Regions from separate parts of the Homo sapiens genome. Here regions 1 and 2 are each linked to region 3. Evidence: promoter capture Hi-C in human tissues and cell types (Jung and others, 2019). All regions are on one chromosome and are shown on one strand. The core of a region is centred on a gene start or on the middle of the fragment in contact, and the rest is flanking DNA. Distances in the headings are between cores, read along the strand shown. Region 1 holds the start of ANKFY1 (ankyrin repeat and FYVE domain containing 1). Region 2 overlaps ANKFY1 (ankyrin repeat and FYVE domain containing 1). Region 3 holds the start of SPNS3 (SPNS lysolipid transporter 3, sphingosine-1-phosphate (putative)).

Evidence for each region. Contacts are between HindIII fragments. The study calls those that stand out against the background at their distance.
Region 1: the fragment with the promoter of ANKFY1 here is called in contact with the fragment with the promoter of SPNS3 in region 3 in 1 of the 25 tissues and cell types used here (thymus).
Region 2: a fragment that was not itself captured here is called in contact with the fragment with the promoter of SPNS3 in region 3 in 1 of the 25 tissues and cell types used here (lymphoblastoid cells).

The regions. Positions count from the first base shown.
Region 1 is chr17:4,262,682-4,265,538 of GRCh38, forward strand. ANKFY1 (ankyrin repeat and FYVE domain containing 1) reads right to left here and starts at 1,298. Exons shown (of 25, transcript NM_001330063.2): 1 at 1,251-1,298. The coding sequence starts at 1,260. RefSeq lists a silencer at 595-744 and an enhancer at 1,395-1,484. The HindIII fragment of the contact is 4,200 bases long and covers 1-2,422 here.
Region 2 is chr17:4,210,089-4,212,788 of GRCh38, forward strand. The region is part of intron 4 of ANKFY1 (ankyrin repeat and FYVE domain containing 1); the gene reads right to left. Among named protein-coding and RNA genes, the nearest start is that of ANKFY1, 53 kb to the right of the region's middle. The HindIII fragment of the contact is 4,377 bases long and covers 1-2,700 here.
Region 3 is chr17:4,432,531-4,435,230 of GRCh38, forward strand. SPNS3 (SPNS lysolipid transporter 3, sphingosine-1-phosphate (putative)) reads left to right here and starts at 1,410. Exons shown (of 12, transcript NM_182538.5): 1 at 1,410-1,636. The coding sequence starts at 1,438. RefSeq lists an enhancer at 1,472-2,126. The HindIII fragment of the contact is 23,733 bases long and covers 1-2,700 here.

The DNA of each region.
Region 1 (2,857 bases), core at 48-2,547, 170 kb before region 3:
AGCTACAGTGAGCCGTGACCGCGCCACTGTACTCCAGCCGGTGGGACAGAGCGAGACCCTATCTCAAAACACACACACACACCCCCCAAAACCAACTGGGTGTCAGTCACAGCTATCTCTGTAACTTTGCCTAAATTCCTTTATCAATAAAGGCAAATACACACGCCAGGCCTCCTTCACGAGGTTATCTGAAGTCTAATGCAAATGAGAAAAGCCGACCAACTGTCAGGTGCTGCCCAAATCTAAGATCCATCAAGTGATGGGTTCAGTCAAAGCTCAAAACCAACAGGAAAGGTCGTGGCCAAGCACACTGCAGTCACTCAATAAACAAAGGTCAAATAAGGAATACTGTTCTCCAATAATGGGGTGAAGAGGAGAACCAGGCTGCCCAGATCCAACAATGTCCCTGCACGATTCCTGACAGGTAACTCCCCGTCTCTGGGCCTTCTTTCCCCCTACGTGTACAATAAGGCTTTGACAATGAAGGCTTCTAATTACTGCTACATTAAGACAGGCAGACTCTGAGAGACCAGAGTGCCTTAAGCTGCAATGTCATGAAAAGTGCACGAGACCAGAGGGTAGGCACTGGACGGGGAGGCAAAGGCACAGAGGTCTGGTTTGAGCAGCCCTCTTGTGAGCAGTGTGACCTTGGCCAACTCCCTTCCCGCAAACCCCTTCCTCCCGTCTTCATCTGTACGCCTGGCCTGAAGGCTGGGGTTGCAGCAGAGCCGGAGCCGCCAGTGCGCCCGCCTGAAGCGTGGGCCAGCTCGCTGCTGCCTCGCCCCCACCCCACCCCACCTCACCCCAACCCAGCCCGAGGAGACCCACGCTCTTCCGCAAGCGAGGGATGGACCCCTTCCGGATGCAGAACGTGCCAGGACAGCAGTTTCGATTTCCTAAGGAGAAGGCTTACTTCCCCCGGCGTCCCGGCACCGCCGGCAATCAAGAGCCTCCCGTGCTGCCCTCGGGGCCCCGCGGCTGCACGCAGCACCGGCGCGGGACCTGCCAGCCCGGCTCCGCAGCCGGCCGCAGTCCCGCGGGGTCGGCATCGCGGGAGGGACGTTGTCATAGGAACCGCGCTCCGGACCCCGGCCCGAGAAGCTCCGGAGAGGCTAGACAGGAAGGCTCGCGAGACCCGCGGAGCCCCCATGCAACCACGCCCGGCCTTCCCCTCCCACGGCAGCTTCGCACGGCCAGCAGCGCCCCCACAGCTCCGTGTCTTCCCGCGCGGCTCCACAAAAAAACCCTACCTTCCGCCATGTCTGGCCCGGCACTGCCTGCAACCTCGCGAGAAGTGCGCGGCTCAACCGGGGCGGTGCGGAACGGAATCACCAAGTCTCGCGAGAATCGCGGGAGGCGCGGCAAAAGGCGGAGCCGAGGGTAGGAAAGTGGGTGAATGAAAGCGGAGGGGGTTGCTGGACTCTGGGGGAAGCGGAGAGCCGGGTTTCTTTTTACCGGGTATTTTTGAGGCTCGAGATTTATTAAGCACTGACTGAGCCCTGTCATATTCCACGTCCTTGGCAGGGCACCGAAAAGGATGACACAACGAATGCAGACTACTCTGGAGAAGCTTGGCAATGAGAGGGTCGAGAGAGGGGGTTTGTTGGTCCTTAGGTTTGTAAAGAAAGGAGAGGCTGGGAGAAAGGAGTCAGTGGAGAGGTCCCTGGGGAGGTAGGATGCTCTGCATGCGATGCAGAACTCAGGAAAACGGATTAAATTTAGACTAGAGGCAGGTCACCTGTTATTCCACTAAAACGGTAGGAAACAAGAACATGCGTGCAGATATATAGGGGGGAAGAAAATCAGGGAGATCGTTTGATGACATCGATTTTATGGGTGAAGTTATGAGACAAGGAAGGAGACCAAGAAGAGCAAAGAAACTTTGGAAGAGGACGCTGAAGTTGGAAGGCCTGGTTTCATGTGCCTCATGTATGTGTTGATGGATCACTTTTTTCTAGAACTCAGCCACCAGGCTGCAGTAGCAGATATTTTGAATTATAGCATTTATCCAGGGCTTGGGATTGCATTGCCCAAAATAAATTGAGGGTGCTATGAGACGACAGCCCAGGCCATCAAACGTGGGATACAGACTGGCTAGGGACTGATGGAGGAGCCACGAAACTGCAGGTCTCTGATAATTGAAGGCCAGTGCAGTGCAGGCAATGTTGTGAGAGCTTGGTGGTTAAAGTGGCAAACAGGTTCATAGTGAAGTAGCACTAGGAGATGAGAAAAGTCCAGGACAGGCCGGGCGTGGTGGCTCACGCCTGTAATCCCAGCACTTTGGGAGGCCGAGGAGGGTGAATCACCTGAAGTCTAGAGCTCAAGACCAGCCTGGCCAACATGGTGAAACCCCGTCTCTACTAAAAATACAGAAATTAGCCGGGCGTGGTGGTGCATGCCTGTAATCCCAGCTACTCGGGAGGCTGGGGCAGTAGAATCGCTTGAACCCGGGAGGCAGAGGTTGCAGTGAGCCAAGATTGTGCCACTGCACTCCAGCCTGGGCAACAGAGTGAGACTCTGTCTCAAAAAAAAAAAAAAAAAGTCCAGGACAGAGCCACGGAATAGAGTGGCTGAAGTGGAAGTGAGAAGGCAGGAAAATTAGATGTTGGGATTTAGAGGTAGGAAAGGAAAGGAGCATCAGGAGCTAAAATCTTTGGTGAATGTGGGGAGGACTATACGATTAGTTAAGACAATTGCAAAATGGAGGGCTAAACAGTAACATAGCTGAATAGCATGAGACCTTTCTTGTTTTTTGTTTTTTTTTTTTTTCAGAGATGGAGTCTCTGTTGGCCAGGTTGGTCTTGAACTCCTAGTCTCAAGCAGTCCTCCCACCCCAACCTCGCAAAGTACTGAAATT
Region 2 (2,700 bases), core at 84-2,583, 220 kb before region 3:
AATTACAGTTGGTCTCCCATATTTAAAAAGTACTAGAATTTCATTATAATATTTCATTGCTCCATTCTGGTCAGAATCAAAATAACATGCAAATAAACTGATTAAGCATAATACCCCAACTGCCTTAACAGCACACATACGACACCCGCTGATCACACAGACAGGTAATTGTCGAATCAAGCACAAAATGGATCAACCTCTGTCCTTCAAAGAAAATTTAACTGTGTGGAACACCACTTTAGTTCCCACAACTGCATGATGCAAACAGTGTGTCTTAGAAATAGTTTCAAATACGAGGCTCTATGCTCAATAATTAACACCTCCTTAAAAGCTCTCCCGGCTGGGTGCAGTGGCTCACGCCTGTAATCCCAGCGCTTTGGGAGGCCGAGGTGGGTGGATCACCTGAGGTCGGGAGTTCGAGACCAGCCTGACCAACATGGAGGAACCCCATCTCTACTAAAAATACAAAATTAGCCGGCTGTGGTGGCGCATGCCTGTAATCCAAGCTACTCGGGAGGCTGAGGCAGGAGAATCGCTTGAACCCAGGAGGCGGAGGTTGCAGTGAGCTGAGATCGTGCCATTGCACTCCGGCCTGGGCGACAAAGGCAAAACTCTGTCGCAAAAAAAAAAAAAAAAAAAAAAAAGCTCTCCTATAAGATGAATGTGTATGATATGTGAATTATAACTCAATAAAGCTGTATTTTAAAAGCCCCACCTAGGATCTACTGAGGTCAGGAGCTCGAGACCAGCCTTACCAACAAGGTGAAACCCTGTCTCTACTAAAAATACAAAAATTAGCCGGGCATGGTGGCAGGCGCCTGTAGTCCCAGCTACTCAGGAGGCTGAGACAGGAGAATTGCTTGAACCCAGGAGGCGGAGATTGCAGTGAGCCGAGATTACGCCACTGCACTCCAGCCTGGGCAGCGGAGTGAGACTCCATCAACAACAACAACAAAAAAAATAAAAAGAAAAAAAGAAAAAAGAAAAAACTCACCTAAAATATCTATAATGTTTTGAAAAAAACAGCCAAATCAGCCAGGTGTGGTGGCTCACACCTATAATCCTAGCTCTTTCAGAAGCCAAGGCGGGCAGATTGCCTGAGCTCAGGAGGTCGTGACCAGCCTGGGCAACATAGCGAAACCCCGTCTTTACTACAAATACAAAAACAAATTAGCTGGGCTGCCTGTAGTCCCAGATACTGGGGAGGCTGAGGCACAAGAATCACGTGAACCCGGGAGGCAGAGGTTGCAGTGAGCTGAGACGGTGCCACTGCACTCAAGCCTGGGTGACAGAGCAAGACTCGTCTCAAAAAAAAAAAAAAATTAGAAAAAATAGCCAAATCATAGTACACCCCCCACACCAAAAAAATCAGATTTCTACTGTAACAACAAAACCACAGTACACCAAAATAGAGAAAAACTGGCTACAATGGATGTCCTCATAAAGCCGCATAATAATAAAAACAAGACTCTTTCAGAATCATTAATAAGGAAACACGGCCAGGTGCAAAGGCTCACACCTGTAATCCCAGCACTCTGGGAGGCCAAGGCAGGAGGAGTACTTGTGGCCACGAGTTCAAGACCAGCCTGGGCAACACAGCAAGACCCTGTCTCTACCAAAACAATTGAGAAATTAGGCAGGCATGGTAGCATGTGCCTGTAGTCCCAGCTACTCAGGAGGCTGAAGTAAGAGCCCAGGAGTTCAAGGCTGCGGTAAGAGCCCAGGAGTTCAAGGCTGCGGTGAACCGTGATCGCACCACTGTACGCCTGCCTAGATGACAGACAGAGACTCTGTCTCAAAAAAAAAACAAAACAAAAACAAACAAACAAACAAACAAAAAACATCAACTACATCAGAGAAGAGAGAGCTGAAGGCAGGCAAATAGGTCTCTGGTAGCAAAAGCAGGACCACATTGTAGTCTGGAAGATATGGCATTGGAAAGACCACACTTCCTCTATGCCAGAATTCCTGGAAGCCTTAGGGAGTCTCCCATGAGACCAGGCCCATGGGGAAAAGGTGGCCAGGGAACAGCCCTTCACCTCCCTCGCCTCCACTGCTCCCTCCAAATCAGGTTCACCTCCAAGGGCAGTCACAGACGACTAGTATGGTTTCACGAGATTTCCTGACATCCACCATTGTTTTCCCTGCCAGCAGCCTCCACCAAAACTCTTTTCTAACCACAAAGGCAGAATGTGGTGGACAGAGCAAGATAAACAATGAGGTAAAAAAGACCTGAGTGGAGACCCATTACATTTTAGGGGCCAAATTACTTGAGCTCTCTGTGCCCCTCTCTCCTCCTCTATAAAATAAAGATGTTACTCTACTTCAGATATTTGAGGAATACTTGTGTGTTTGTCAAGATGGAGGAGAACTAGTTACACTCAGCACAGCTTGAGGTATGTAGTAAATATGCTCGGAAGTTTGAGGTCCCTCTACTAGCCGTTCTCGTCTCTAAAACCTGAAATTCCTTTACTAAGGAAAAATCACAAAAGGAAATCACTTAATTTTAATAATCCACATTAGTGGATTTCAGTACTGTTAACCATAACTAGCTAGCAGATAATTCCCAATCTTAACAGATGGGCTTTAGGTAACAGACGTAGAAAAAGACCATGGGAATGGGTGATGGCAGAAGAAAGAAGGAAGGTCATGAGAAAGACCTGGGCAGAATGCAGAACACACTTTTTTTTTTTTTTTTTT
Region 3 (2,700 bases), core at 160-2,659:
ACAGGCACCTGCCACCATGCCTAGTTAGTTTTGTATTTTTAGTAGAGACGGGGTTTCTCCACATTGGTCAGGCTGATCTTGAACTCCCGACCTCAGGTGATCCACCTGCCTCGGCCTCCCAAAGTGCTGGGATAACAAGCGTGAGCCACCACGCCTAGCTCCCTCAGTCTTTCTTAGTCTTTCATGACTCTGACATTTTTCAATATACAGTCCCTTTAAAGAAATAGTGTTTCTCAATTTGGGCTTGTCTGATGTTTTTTCATTTTAAAAATTAAAAAAAAAATTTTTTTTTTTGAGTTGGGGTCTTGCTTTGTCACCCAGCCTGGAGTGCAGTGGCACGAACATGGCTCACTGCAGCCTCGACTTCCCAGGCTAAGGCGATCCTTCCTACCTCAGCCTCCCAAGTAGCTGGGACTGTGGACGCACACCACTACACCCGGCTATTTTTTTTTAAAATTTTTTATTTTTTTGGTATTTTTGTAGCAATGGGGTTTCACCATGTTGCCCAGGCTGGTCACAAACTTCTGGGCTTGGATGATCCTCCTGTCTTGGCCTCCCAGTGTTAGGATTACAGGTGCGAGCCACCGCGTCTGGCTGATGTCTTCTCATGATGAGATTCCGGTTGTGCCTTCCTGGCTGGAATGCCACATAGATGATGCTGTGACCTGCGAAGACCTTCACATCTGGAGGCACACGACACCCTCCTGCCTCTCACAGGTGATTTATTTTAACCCCTTGGTCAAGATGTCTGATTCCTCTACTGTATAGTTACTCTTTTTCCTTTTGTTACTAATAAGCAATCTATCAAGAGATGCTTCGTGACCGTGCTGACACCCTCCCCCCTCACTGAAGTCTTCCCCCCAGATTTAGCCCCCACTGATGAGTTTTGCACACAGGCTGTCTTCTTGTAGGCAGCCCCCTCTGCTACCTTTGTTTTTCCGGGAAGGACCTTAGATCCTGGGTAGGTGCTCATCCTGCCTGGCAGTCGAGTGCAATGCTGCTGTCCTGGCCAATGCCCAGCCTTCCTCATTTGCCCCGGCTTCAAGGCATTGGTTCACAGTCCCGTACGGGCAGCTAGACCATCTCACAGCAAGCAGCACTCTGGGAGGCTCATCTCATTTCCTGCCCTGGAAGCTTCCCTTCCTCACTGCAGCCACTGAAGCTGCAGGCTAGATCAAGGGGACCACAGAGTTGTCCAGTCCCCAGGGTGGGGGTGCCAGGAGCCCTTGTCCTCCGTAGCAGGTCTCAGAGGCTGACGATGGGGAAATCGCACTGGTGAAGCTGCCGTGGGGTCAGGAGGAACCTGCGATAAGACGCCCAACAGTTAGGGCAGGTGCTTTGAGGTTTGGAGCCTGGGACCCCACAGGAAGTGACTTCGTGCTGAGCTAATGTTGCTTCATCCTGGCGCCAGTCTCAGGCCAAGAGCTGCAGGCTGGCATGGCTGGGGGGATGTCAGCGGAGTGCCCTGAGCCTGGGCCAGGAGGTCTGCAGGGCCAGTCCCCAGGGCCAGGCAGGCAGTGTCCCCCTCCCATCACGCCCACCTCCTGGAGCCTGCCCCCGTGGAGGGCCTACGTGGCTGCCGCCGTCCTCTGCTACATCAACCTCCTGAATTACATGAACTGGTTCATCATTGCAGGTGAGGAGGGGATGGCTACCCTGGGCAGTACCTGCTGCTGTGCCCACCAGCCAGGGGCTGCAGATCCATGGTGGCCTTCCAGCCATCACCCATCTTTCTGCTCCTGGGCCCATCTCTGGTGTTCTCACCTCTAGAGGTGGTTTTCAGCTGTGCTCGAATCGGGGAGGACCAACTGATGTTCCCAATCCAGCCTCAACTAAGAAGGGACACAGGCTGGGCATGGTGGCTCCCGCTTGTAATTCCAGCACTTTGGGAGGCTGAGGCAGGAAGATTGCTTGAGCCCAGGAGTTTGAGACCAACCTGGACAACATAGTGAGACTCTGTCTCTATTTATTTATTTTTTTTTTTGAGACAGAGTCTCGCTCTGTCGCCCAGGCTGGAGTGTAGTGGCGCAATCTCAGCTCACTGCAACCTCTGTCTCCCAGGTTCAAGTGATTCTCCTGCCTCAGCCTCCCGAGTAGCTGGGATTACAGGCGTGCACCACCACATCCGGCTAATTTTTGTATTTTGAGTAGAGGAGGAGTAGGGACGGGGTTTTACCATGCTAGTCAGGCTGGTCTCGAACTCCTGACCTCAGGTGATCCACCCGCCTCGGCCTCCCAAAGTGCTGGGATTACAGGCATGAGCCACCGTGCCCGGCCTTTTTTTTTTTTCTTGAGACAGAGTCTCAATCTGTTGCCCAGGCTGGAGTGCAGTGGCGCGATCTCGGCTCACTGCAACTTCTGCCTCCCAGGTTCAAGCGATTCCTATCTCAGCCTCCCGAGTAGCTGGGACTACAGGCGCATACCACCATGCCAGGCTAGTTTTTGTATTTTTAGTAGAGACGGGGTTTTGCCGTGTATGCCAGGCTGTCTCGAACTCCAGACCTCAGGTGATCCGCCTGCCTCGGCCTCCCAAAGTGTTGGGATTATAGGCATGAGCCCCTGCGCCCAGCCGAAACTCTGTCTCTATTTAAAAAATTAAAAATATTTTAGGGCTGGGTGCGGTGGCTCAGGCCTGTAATCCCAGCACTGTGGGAGGCCAAGGTGGGCGGATCACTTGAAGTGAGGACTTTGTGACCAGCC